Linked DNA regions of Homo sapiens: region 1 is linked to region 2. The links are contacts of gene promoters, found by promoter capture Hi-C in human tissues and cell types (Jung and others, 2019). All regions are on one chromosome and are shown on one strand. Each heading gives the region's core, a stretch centred on a gene start or on the middle of the fragment in contact. The rest is flanking DNA. Distances are from core to core; before and after follow the strand shown. Region 1 overlaps BPIFB4 (BPI fold containing family B member 4). Region 2 holds the start of BPIFA1 (BPI fold containing family A member 1).

Region 1 (6,018 bases), core at 3,369-5,868, 130 kb after region 2:
TCATCTACTAAGTGAGGGCAAACATCAACCAGGGCTGTTGATGGCCAAGTCCATGAAAGGTCATGTGGTAAGGCCAAGTCCATGAAAGACTATGTATGGGGCACTGAACATCTCAGTAAATAGTAGAGATGATGATGATGATGATGATGAAGATAAACCTGTGCCAATCCTGTTCGTGTTTCCTAACCCCTTTGTTGAAGTGAATAATAACATTTTATAATAAAATGCTGTATCTCGTTTAATTTCTCACCACAAACTGTATGAGGTGGCCATTATCGTTCCCCATTTTCAGATGAGAAAACTGAGGCTCAAAGCAGTGCCGAGGTCCTACAGGATCTCAAGAGACTGGGCCAAGGCAGGGGACTGTCCCAGAGCCAGCATCTGACCCCTGCCCACACTGCCCATCCAAGGTCATTGTCCACCTCCCTTGACTGACTCCCTAATGTGGGAAGGGGGCTGTTCCCTGGGTCTGAGCCTGTCATGAATGTGAGGGGCAAATGTGAGGGGGCAATTTCCTTCGGCAAGGAAATTGTCAATCTGGCACAAAGGCCCCATTCATTCCATTTCTGGGAATTTGTTCCAAGGAACTAAATCTAGAATCAAGAAACAGTTTATGCATTGAGATGTTCACTGCAGCATCCTTTATTACAGTGATGGTATTTATAATGGTGGACACTTCCAGAAGTGCTTATTATGTGCCAGGCCTGTGCAAGGCACGTTACACACAGAATCCCATTTTCTCCTAAAAGCAGCCCTATGGGTAGGTAGTATGATTAGCCCCTTTTTATAGAGGAAATAAATGGAGGCTTGGAGAGGTTACCCAGCTGGAAACTGGCAGAGTTAGGATTTGAACTGGGGTCACTGGGCTCCAAGCCCTCGTTCTTTAACCCCAATGCTCTACTGATTCCCTGAGCAAAGCCATGTTTAAAAATAAAACTTCAGAAAGACTGGAATGAAAAGCAGCAAAATGTTCTCAGGGGGAATTGCTGGATTGTATATATGTCTATATATATATATAGACATATATATATGGATGCATACTTTTTTTTAATCTTTTCCATATTTTCCAAATTTCAGATATTGAGCACGGGTGGTTTTTATAGTGGAAACAAGAACCCCTGCATGTGAACTTCAAAGCACCTGCCATGATTATAATTAGCCAATTACTTCGGGAATATTTACCAAAAGGCCATCTCCCCATTGGGCTAAGAGAGCTTTGCAAGGGCCAGGGTTGTCCTTGTTCACTGCTGGATCCCCAGGCCCCTGCATAGTGCCTGGCACACAGTAGGTGCTCAATAAAAGTTGCTCCAATGAACTATACCACATTCCATTTTGGGCAAGCCCCTTACTGCTGTGAGCCTCAGTTCTCACATCTGTAAGATGGCAACAATGACACCTGTGGTGAGGGCTAAATGAGACTGAATGGGAGAGTGTCTTCAAGGATCCTTAACAGCTCTGCTCCTTGTTCCCTCAGCCCCATGCTTGGAAGGAAGAGGACCCTGTTTCCTCCCCTTCCCTCCTCTTCTCTTCCTCTTCCAAGTTCCTGGCCTGAATGCAGTGGTCAAAGGTGATGAGCAAAGGGCAGGGAGGAAAAGCAGAATGGAGCTCGATCTCCTCTTACCTCCAACACGTCAATGTCTGCATTGCTAAAGTCGATGTTGAGGATTTTGGGGAGAGGGACGCCAGAACCCAGCACAGCTGTAAAATAAAAAACAGTCAGACATGGTCAGTGGTCCAAGAGGTGTTGGTCTCACCAGAAGCCGCCAGTATTTGTAAGAAGATTGGCAATTTCTTTTTTCTTTTTTTGAGACAGAGTCTCGCTCTGTTGCCCAGGCTGGAGTGCAGTGGCACAATCTCGGCTCATTGCAACCTCCACCTCCCAGGTTCAAGTGATTCTCCTGCCTCAGCCTCCCAAGTAGCTGGGATTATAGGCACATGCCAACATGCCTAATTTTTGCTTTTTTTGTTTGTTTGTTTGTTTTGTTTTTTGTTTGTTTGTTTTGTTTGTTTTAGTAAAGACAGGGTTTCACTATGTTGGCCAGGCTGATTTTGAACTCCTGACCTCAGATGATCTGCCCCCACCTCGGCCTCCCAAAGTACTGAGATTACAGGTGTGAGCCATGGTGCCCACACCTGGCAATTTCTTTTTCTTTTTCTTTTCTTTTCCCTTTTCTCTTTTCTCTTCTTTTCTTTTCTTTTCTTTCCTTCCTTCCTTCCTTCTTTCTTTCATTTTTTTTTTTAACTGAGTCTTGCTCTGTTGCCCCAGCTGGAGCGCAGAGGCACGATCTCAGCTCACTGCAACATCCACCTCCTGGGTTCAAATGATTTTCTTGCCTCAGCCTCCTGAGTAACTGGGACTACAGGCGTGCGCCACCACGCCCAGCTAATTTTTGTGTTTTTAGTAGAGATGGGGTTTCACCATATTGGTCAGGCTGGTCTTGAACTCCTGACCTCGTGCTCCACCCGCCTTGGCCTCCCAAAGTGTTGGGATTACAGGCTTGAGCTACTGTGCCCGGCCCTGGCAATTTCTTTTATGCCTCTAGGCCTTTGTCCTTGCAGTTCCTCCTGCCTGGTGCACATTCTCTCACCCTAGCATCCCTGGTGAGTTCTGAGCCCTCTCTGAGACTGTTCAGATGTTACCTCCTCTGCAAGGTTTTCTGGACCCCAAACGACTCAAGGCTCCTGCAGCACCCCCATCCCACCTCCGAACTGCTCTATTAGAGAAACCATAAAATATTAATTATCTGTTTCTGTATCTGTCACGCCCACCACATTGTGAGTTCCCTGAAGGCAAGAACTATGTCCCCTTGGGAGGCCAAGGTGGGTGGATCACTTGAGGTCAGGAGTTTGAGACCAGCCTGGCCAACATGGCAAAAACCCATCTCTACTAAAAATACAAAAATTAGCTGGGTGTGGTGGTGCACAGCTGTAATCCCAGGTACTCGGGAGGCTGAGGCAGGGGAGTCTCTTGAACCTGGGAGGCAGAGGTTGCAGTGAGCCGAGATCGTGCCACTGTACTCTAGCCTGGGCCACAGAGTGAGACTCCATCTCAAAAAAAAAAAAAAGAAAGAAAAGAGCTGTGTCCCCAGCATCACCCAGCCCTTCGCCCAGTCATAGAGGAGATGGCAAATGTTTGCCGAGTGAAGTAATGGAAAGTGCACGTGGAGCCCTAGCCATTGACTCTGCCGTGGGATGTGCTGTTTGTTTTCAGATTGTCAGAGCCTAAGTAAACCTGCTAATTACTGTTCTAGAAAGAGAGCAGGAAGAGAGAAAAAGAAGTGGGGTAGGAAAGAGTGGATGGGGGAAGTAAATTAAGTGAAATTTAACAGACTTCTCTATTCCAGCAGGACTTTTCAAAAAGCTAAGGACATTGTGAATCTACCCTGCAGGAGTATCTTCAGCACTTCCCAAACTTGCTCGGCCATGGAACGCTTTTTGCAGGGTATTTTGTGGGACTGCTTTACGGAGCTCACTTTGGGGACTATGGACCTTGTCCAAGCTCTCATTTTGAAAATGGTGAATTGCACTTCAGTATGATTAAAAGACTCGCCCCCAAGTTCACACCACTCTTAGTGATTAAGCCAGGCAAGACGCTCCGTCTCTTCCCTCCCAGGTCAGCCCAGCCCAGCCCCTGACCCCATCCTCTCACAGAGAAACCACCACTTTCCCCACCAGTGAGACTCGGCTTCCTCTGACCACAGGGCCCAGAACAAGGGTTTGTTTGACATCAAGATGGCTCCAACAGAACCCCCGCTGGTGTAGCTGATGACATTGGCTGGGATGTGCCAGCCCTCCTTGTCTTCTCATCCAGGAAGCAGGAGTGGGAGAGAGTCTGGGGCCCAGTGACCCCAGGGCTTGGGCAGTTTCCCAGTCCCAGTATGTGAGTAGCCAATGACCCCCATAGTTCAACAAGCAGCCTTCCCAGTAACATTCCTGAGACGCCCCAGAGAGCAAAGCAAGCTCAGTCTACTCTGTTTATAAAGTTGGGCAAGAAAACCTCCTAACTTGATGTGGTTCCCTAGGGGGGCAGATTCTGGGCTAGGAAGGAGGCTGGGGATGTCGATAAGAGCAACTTTAGCTGTATCTGCGCCAATGGAACTTTTCACAATAAGAATGTATTCCTGTAGTTCCTGTATCATTAAAAATAAATACATGTTTAAATATGAGTCAGGAAAGATCTCAATCATATGGGAAAACAATGGAGAAAAAGAGTTTAGAAGGAAATATGCTCAGATGTTGAGATTCATTGCCTCTGCGAGGTGAGTTTTTTTTAAATTGTTTTATATTTTCTAAAACTTGCACACACACAATGTTAATACATAATCGGAATTTTCATAGATAATCAGAAAAATAAAACAATCAGCCAAACAAGAAAGAAGCAAATAAGGAAGGTGCTGGAACTTTGGGGGCCACGTTTGGATTTGGAGGCTTTCATCGACACGCTTCAAAGGAAGTGCTCAGAAATACTATTGAGGTAGGATAGATGCACATCCAGCATGCCCAACAAGCCAGTATCCCCCAGTACCCAAGCCACAAGCTCCCAGAGAGGCACAGGCACCCGCTCTCACCGTTCATTGCGGGCATGAATGCCAGGTCAAAAATCTTCTCCACCAGCACCTCCATGAGGCCAATCTGCAGAGGAAGAAGGAGGACAGAGCCTGGGCAGGGGGTTTGCTCAGCTCCAGAGGGCCCCTTGGGTCTGCTCCCCTGGCTCAAGGTGGAGACACAGACCTGCTCTGGGAGAGTCTAGGTTCTGGCAGTCAGAACCCCTGAGACCCCAGAATTTCTCACCGGCAGCCTTAAGGTGCCCCCCATCAACTTGCACATTGTGCAGATGGGCAGACTGAGGCCCAGCATGGGTGGTGGCCCAAGGCCCCTATGAAGCAGGGATTGAGGGAGGCCTAGTTCCTCCCCTGGGAGGCACAGAGCACAGGTTTCAGGGTGGCCTGGCCCCGATGGCACTGTCATGGCATCACAGAAGTCCCAATGGCCCTGGAGCCAACACCCCAGGTTCCCATCCCAGCTCAGTCTCCGTGGGCCTCTGGGCAGGCTCCTTCACCTCTCTAACCCTCAGCTTCCTCAGCTGTAAAATGGGTCAGTGAGCTGAGTTTGCAAGGATGCGGTGAGGATGGTGGGTAGATCACGTAAAACTCCTGGCCTTGAGCCTTTTCATATGTTACCTCCCTTAACTTCTCTAAGCCTTGGTTTCCACATCTGAAAACAGGAGTGAGTAACCCTTGCCTCATAGGGTGGTTATAAAAATCAGACATAAGCCCCTATATGTAACATGCCTGATGTTCCAGTCTGCAGAGGGTGAGGGCATGGACTCACTTTCCGGCAGTGCCTCTTCCTAGCTCTGTTGCCTTGGGCAAGTCACTTGAGCTTACCTTCCTTATTTGGAAGAATGGGTGTAATAATAATACCCAAATCATAACACGGTGGTAAGGATTAAATGAGAAAACCTCATTAAAAGAGAAAAAAAAGCATAATTCAGTGCCTAGGGCCCATCTCGATAGCTTCATTAATTCATTAATTTTACACTGTCAGCCCCTTTCTTCACTTGGAGTCCAGAGATTTCAGTTCTAATCCCAACTCTGCCCCAACCAGCTGGGAAGCCTTGGGCAGTTTATCCTTATAAAATGAAGCTGGCAAGATCGGCTTCACAGGCTGTAGCTTTTTGGGTTAGAAAAGCTATAAAATTAGCAACACAATGAATGGGTTTGACTTTTTCTGCACATGTGGAGATCTCATCCAAGCTTGTCCCAGAAAGCTAGCAGATGCTTAGTTGTCAATTTATAAAAAGCGGAGGTGGGGGGGTGGGGAGGAAGGAGTGTTTCTGAAGCCTTAGGTGGGGGTGGGGCACCCAAGAGTGAACAAAGAGATAAAACAGGACCCAACGCTAGAATGTGAGCATCTCAGATTTCTGGACCCTTGGAAAAGCAGAATTCCACAACCCAGGGGCAAGAAGGGAGGTTAGAAATGAACTCAAATTGTATTCATTTTACAGATGGGGAAACT
Region 2 (6,634 bases), core at 1,735-4,234:
CAGAGAGACAGGGTGTCCTGTCCCAGGTCATCCAACAAGTACATTTGAAAATCAAAGTCAAGAAGTCTGTCTGTCTCCAAGTCAGGGAGTGAGACCCTGGGTGGGTAGGATTTTGGAAATGGCTTTGATCCAGTCCTATCCAGGAACCAGGCTCTGCCGGCTCACTGGCATCAAGCTTCCATTCTTGCTTTTTGCTTTGCGAGCTCTTGGGTGTCTCATGGGAAACTCCACGTTAGACCTTTCCATGGACATCACACTGTTTTTCATCACATTGATATCATCAAGGTGGGCAGGTTATACTCTCGCTAACATCAAAGGCCGTCTGTGTTCTAAGGGATTTCACAGGTGCAGAGAACAAAATGACCACAGTGTAGTGGGAAGAGCCTTGGCTTTGGAGTTAGGATAGTAGAGTGAGAGCCTTACTCACTTGGCATCACTCTAGCAGCGTGAACACAGGCACCTCTGTGCTTTGGTTTTCCCATTTGCAAACTGGAGATTATTAAATCGACCTCAAAGGGTTGTGGTGAGGATTATAGATGATGCTGGGGCCTCAGGACATGCCTAGAACTGAGGGCATTGCTGGTTTGGGGAGGACGGGTGTCCCTGCCAAACTGGAGATGGGTCTCAGAACTGAGTCCTGGCTCCATCTTCAGGCCGCTCCCTCGCTGCTTCAGGGTCGCTGCTTCAGGGTCACTGCCTGGGGCTGGCAGATCTTCACCTGGGGTTCCCTGGTGGAGATCAAAGCTCTATTTTAGGACAACTCACTCAATGATGTTGTTCAGGCCAGGAATCACTGACGTCACTTTTCCAAGCAGTCCCCCAAGGAGGCCACCAGAAGTACCTCCTCCAGGCTTCAGGATGTCCAGGAGCGGAAGGTTTTCCAGAATGCCCAACAGGCCCCCAGACAGCAGGCCATTGCTGAGGGCTGGAAATGGGTGTAAGGGTCTCTGGGGGTCAGATCTGACAATTCCAGATCCTCAGGCCCCCTCCCCCATCCAGCCCTGTCCCTCCCCACTTTGCAGGGTTGGACACACACACACACACACACACACACACACACACACACACACACACACACACATGCACACATACACCCCTGAAAACTCACCATTTGTCAAGCTTCCTGCAAGACCTGTGGGACTCAAGGGCAGGGCTGGATTCACATTCAAGGGCAGGGTCTGGTCCAGGGGCACGGGCAGGCCTCCAAACTGGGCCATGGTCTGGGCTAACAGCCCGTAGAAGACAATGAGGCCCCCAGTTTGAAACATCTTTGCTCTTAGTATCTGTGGCCAGAATGACAAGTCCAACATGGCATGGGTATCAGAGAGGAATTTATCCACCACCTGCCCTGACACCTGGGGGGTGGGGTTGTTTGCTCCCCAGAACACCAGGGGGTCACTAGTAATAGCTAATACTGCTGAACAATTTCTCTTTGCCAGGCAACAGGCTGACCACTTTACACAATTTCATCTTCATCACAACCCTAAGACATGGGCACCTGTTACCTGCATTGCACAGGTGAGGACCACTGATCAGGGGCCTAAAAAGGAGACAGCCCCACTCCACCACATTCCAAAGAAGAGGGTTTTTTTCCTTCTTGCCAAGAATCCCAGCCTCACCTCACTCCATCTTGCCCACAGTTCACTTGTCTGATTTTCCAGTAGGAGAAACCAAGGCTCACAGAGGTCAAGTGAGTTTGCAGTTGGGAGTTTCAAATATACTCCCATCCCTTCTTGAAACCCACTTGTGTACTACCGAGTGTGGGTAACTTTCCCCAAGGTCACAAGTACACGGTGGACAGAGGATTAGAAGCTAGAGCCAGGTGAACCCTCGGTTAAATTAAGTAACCATCAGATTTATTCTCCAATCGGGCTTGCTTCAATGGTTTGAATCATTGCTGCTCTTCAGACAAAGCAAATGAGAAGGGTTAAACGTGCAAGTGCTGAAGAATTGAACTGTTTTAGATCATCCCTGTTCAGTCCTTTGGCCTGAGCTCAGGCCATGATGGTTGGTGGATGCCCTTGAAAGTCACACAATACAGGGGTCGCATGGCCACAGCCACCATCTCATGTAGACCTTTGTTGGGGAATTCCTGGGGCCATCAAAGTCTTCATTGCATGAGAAGAACCAGGAGACCAAAGAGGGGTAGTGACTTTCCCAAGGTCATACAATAAATTGATGGCAGAGCTGTGGTTGAAGGCAGGTCTCCCAACCCTCCCCTCACCCAACACACAAACATGCATTCTATCATTTTGACACCTTTCTCTTCTCCTTCAAGCTGCCCTGGATGGAATTCCGGTCAACCCCTGAGGTTTGGCTTGCAGACCTCTCACAGGTCTATTTGGCAGCCAGCAGAGTTGTCCAGAGCCAGCACTAGTACCTACAATTTGGAGACAACTGGTGACTTTGTGCAAAATTCCATCTATTGGCTGACTCAGCTAAAGCTCCATCCTTGTGGTGGAAGGCTGGAAATGAAAGGTCTTTGGTCCAAAGAGCCAGTTGTGCCCTTCTTAGGGAGGTAACTTTGACCACAGCCTCTGAATCTCTTTTGGGCAACAGACCCTTTATGAATCCAATGGAAGCTAAAGATCCTAGTCTCAGAAAAAATGCATCAAAATGTATAAAATTGGGTGAAGAATTTTAGGAGGTTTTTGGATCATCTGTATCCACATTGGTAACCTCAAGCTAAAACTTATGCCTTAGAGGCTTTCATTTACGGCATTAATAGTGCCCATTTCTATATCAATGTTACTGGTCTCTTAGGACAGCAGAGCAAATGGCCATCCCCACATCCCTGACATTGGCCAGGTCTGTTTCTCTTGCACAGCCCCCAGTGAGTGATCAAGATCACTCACTGCCCCACAGGGCAGGAGCCTGAGATCCCTGCCGTTAAGGGTAGCAGAGGGGCCACAGAATGGATGGCTCTTACCTGGACTTCTTAGAGGTCTCAGCAGCTGTCCTGGTCTCCTCTCTCTCCCCCACTCACTTCTGCCGAGGAGTCAGCCTCTTTTATAGTATGGGGACGAGGAAGCATGTGTTGGGTGATGGGTTTCTAGATAATTGAGAATTCTGCAATCTGACAGTGTCTTTCAGGGCTCTCCAAAGTAAATAATTGCCAATCACATTAGCAGGTGAGACAGTTAAGCTATTTGGTCAACAAGATAAACAGAGAAAAACCTGAGATGGGATGTTACTCAAGACTTTATGGTTTCCTGAGCGGAGCCAAGGTTGGGGACCCACGCTCCCAAGGTAGCTTGGAGCATTGAAAGGAGCAGCCAGACAGAGCCCAGGAAGGGACCTCAGTCTCATCTCTTGGCCCCTTTCCTCTCCTGCTCTAATTTTTTTGCTCCAGTTGGAGGATTCTTTCTCCTAAAATGTCAAAAGAGTCACACTGCATCCTACATCTGGGGTGCGTCTCCATTCCAGGGCAAGGGTCTCCTGTTTTCAGAGCCCCTATTGCACGTCAGGAGCTCTCTGTCCTCACAAGAACCCTGAGAGGGAGAGGTGACTCCTCCTCTTTTATAGAGGAGGAAACTGAGATCCAGTGGGGACAAGTGCTGAAAGACCCAGAGAGGATGCAGCAGAGTTAGAATGCAACTGACTGGAGAATGAAAACAACAAAAACAACGCCAACAGCAGACACTGGCCGAGCTCCTGCTGTATGCCTGGCCTGCCATGGTGTTCACAGGCAGCATCTCACAAAATCCTCACAACCCTGTACTCCTATTCTATAAGGGGGAAACTGAGGCTGAGTGTGAGGCAAGTTGTCCAGAGATGCAGTGCTTGCCTGGGGTGAGACATCCACATTCAGGTCCTTTCCCCGAATCACTGCACTGAGAGATGAAGGTGCCTCCCAACACTTGCTGGCCATTTTGATTTCCCCACCTGTGAACTTTACACTTTCATGCGTCCCTTTTTATTTTTTAAATTTTCACTTAATTTTTATTTTATTTTATTTTTTGAGACAGTCTTACTCTGTCGCCCAGGCTAGAGTGCAGTGGTGTGATCTCAGCTCATGACAACCTCCACCTCCCGGGTTCAAGTGATTCTCCTGCCTCAGCCTCCTGAGCAGCTGGGACTACAGGCGAGCGCCACCATGCCTGGCAAAGTTTTTGTATTTTTAGTAGAGATGGGGTTTCACCATGTTGGCCAGGCTGTCCTCGAACTCCTGACCTCAGGTGATCCACCTATCTCAGCCTCCCAAAGTGCTGGGATTACAGGCGTGAGCCACAGTGCCCCGCCGCTTCTCTTTTAGGTCCTGGAAAAGTCTTTCCAGGTTCCCAGGCCTGAGGGATCCTTTGGCATCCTGGTCTCTATCCTACCCTTTCTTCTACCTTTCCCTAAATGGAGTAATCAGGCATTTATTTATCCCCACCACTGGGGCCCTTGGAGTCTGTTCAGCAGATGAAAAAGTGAAGACACAGGAAGGCCAAGGTCCTGGACCAGTGAGCGCAGCTCTTACCCTGCAAAACCTAACACCTTATAAGCAAAAGTGGAGAGAGAAGGAATAAATGTGCTTTTATTAAGCACTGACTGCATGCCAGGTGCTCTCCATATTTGAACCTCATCTTCTTCAGGAGTGGTTGGTATTGTTGTCTCTCATACATTGGATGAGGAGGCTGAGGATCAGAAAGGGTGACTGCTTCCTGGGGACACACAGCGAGTGAGTGTTGGAGTCAATTGACCCTGCCACCCTCTGTGTCTGTCTGAGTCCCTGCTAATCAGTGGGCCACACTGCCTCCCTCACACTAGGCCTTCACTGGCCTGCTCCACTGCTCTCCAGAGTCTGGGTGGTGCCCCCAAGGGTTTGGGGCCATGGCTTTGAACTTAATTATCCATTCAAGGTACTTGCTGGACTCTGCCCACATCTTGTACATGGCAATCATCCTCACAGTGGTCCCATCGTATAACTCTTGTGGGTTGGGTCAGGTTGCTACTATCCTTGTGGGGAAACTGAGGCAGATAAGGCAAGGAATTAGTAGAGTTTGTGCAGCCAGTTAATGAAAGCTTACACCCTCTGGTTTGAGGCCGGGAGGCTGTGTCTGTATTGCAGCAGAAAGTGGGTGAATTTGGGCTCAAACAGCCCTGGTTCAAATCCTACGACCCTGGGCAAGTCAGTCCAGTTCCCTGAACTTCATTCAGTTTCCTCACCTGTAAAATGGGGAGCATAAAATCTGCCTCACAGGGCTATGGGGAGATGATGTCTGGGGAGCTGGTATGAATCACAGTTCATAAACTCAGGCGTCCACACATCTTTCTGATTTATCTATACTTTACCATTTCAAATGCCATTTTGCTCAGGAACAGAAATGTCCCAATTTCCCCCTGGGGTTTCATGTCTGTGCTAGGGGCTTTGTTTGTACCAAGGAGGCTGCCTGTCCCTATTTTTGGCTGGCAATATAGGAGACAGCCATGTGCCATCTGCCCCTAGATTGCAGAGACACTGTACTTCCCTCCTGGTGAAAGGTCCCTTTGGATTTAGCATTTACTTTCAACTCGTTTGTAAGACACAGAATTGTTCTGCTGTTCGCCAGTTCCTTGGGCCTGATACAGGACTGTGAGGGGCTGCCCAAGCCCTCCTGCCTGGATCCACCTAGACCCTCCCTTTACCCTTCTCTCCCTGGGGTCTCATGCCCTCTTCTGGCTCTGGGAGGGAGTGTGGACACAGACGCCCTCTGTCCCTGGATCCCATACATGTGCCTGGGATTCTGTTCCCTTCATCCCATGCTCAGGTCTGCCTGGGAGCAGCAAGGGACGGAGGCACCATCAGAACCCACCAGAACTATGCTCCTTCCAGTTCTCCTGGACCCTCACACTTCACCAACCCAACATAGGGCATTTTCTAGTTTTGTGGGCAGGAAGATTTGCTTCAACTTCATTGTGTGTATGCTGTTCTCAGACTCTCCTATGCCCTGAGTTTAACAAGTCAAAAGCCAAGACTATAAAAACAAAAAAACTTACAGTAAAATTGACTTCTTTTAGTGGTATGGTCCTTTGAGTCTTACCACATGTATAGTCAGCCACCATCATAATCAGGGTAAAGAACAGTTCCATCCCCCCAAAGGCACTCTCATGGGTCCCTTTACAGCCACACCCTGCCTTCATCTGCTGGCAACCACCTGTTTGTTCTCTGTCACTACCACTTTATCAAAAACCCAGGCTCTTGAAAGTCAAGAGCCTTGTTTCTGCTTCTGTTGAAACTGCCCTTCCTTGTGGCCACAGGGACTGCATGCTCCCTGCCCTGAACAGGGGAAAGGTCTCAGGGCACCAGGAAACAAGTGGAAGGACACACCACGAACATTTCAAGAGGTTTTCCCCACTCTGGTGATGTCAATACCCTCTCCATGTGTTTCTCAGAAACTGTAGGTGGTGCCTTTCCTTCCTGCTTCTCAGGTTGCAATTGTGTTTGGGAGCCTTTGCTCAGGTTGTTTTGTCAATCAAGAGATCCATTTCTGGCCGGGTGTGGTGGCTCACATCTGTAATCTCAGCACTTTGGGAGGCCCAGGCAGGTGGATCATTTGAGGTCGGGAGTTCAAGACCAGCCTGGCCAACATGGTGAAATCCCATCTCTACTAAAAATACAAAAATTAGCTGGGCATTAGTGGTGCGCACCTGTAAACCCAGCTACTTGGTA

What was found. The method cuts DNA at HindIII sites, captures the fragments that hold promoters and counts their contacts. A contact is called where the count stands out against the background at its distance.
Region 1: a contact is called between a fragment that was not itself captured here and the fragment with the promoter of BPIFA1 in region 2, in 1 of the 25 tissues and cell types used here (mesendoderm cells).

The regions. Positions count from the first base shown.
Region 1 is chr20:33,103,424-33,109,441 of GRCh38, reverse strand. It overlaps BPIFB4 (BPI fold containing family B member 4), which reads right to left. Exons shown (of 18, transcript NM_182519.3): 16 at 4,569-4,632; 17 at 1,622-1,698. Among named protein-coding and RNA genes, the nearest start is that of BPIFB4, 27 kb to the right of the region's middle. The HindIII fragment of the contact is 8,468 bases long and covers 385-6,018 here.
Region 2 is chr20:33,232,346-33,238,979 of GRCh38, reverse strand. BPIFA1 (BPI fold containing family A member 1) reads right to left here and starts at 2,984. Exons shown (of 9, transcript NM_130852.3): 1 at 2,930-2,984; 2 at 1,109-1,283; 3 at 766-925. The coding sequence starts at 1,268. The HindIII fragment of the contact is 6,820 bases long and covers 648-6,634 here.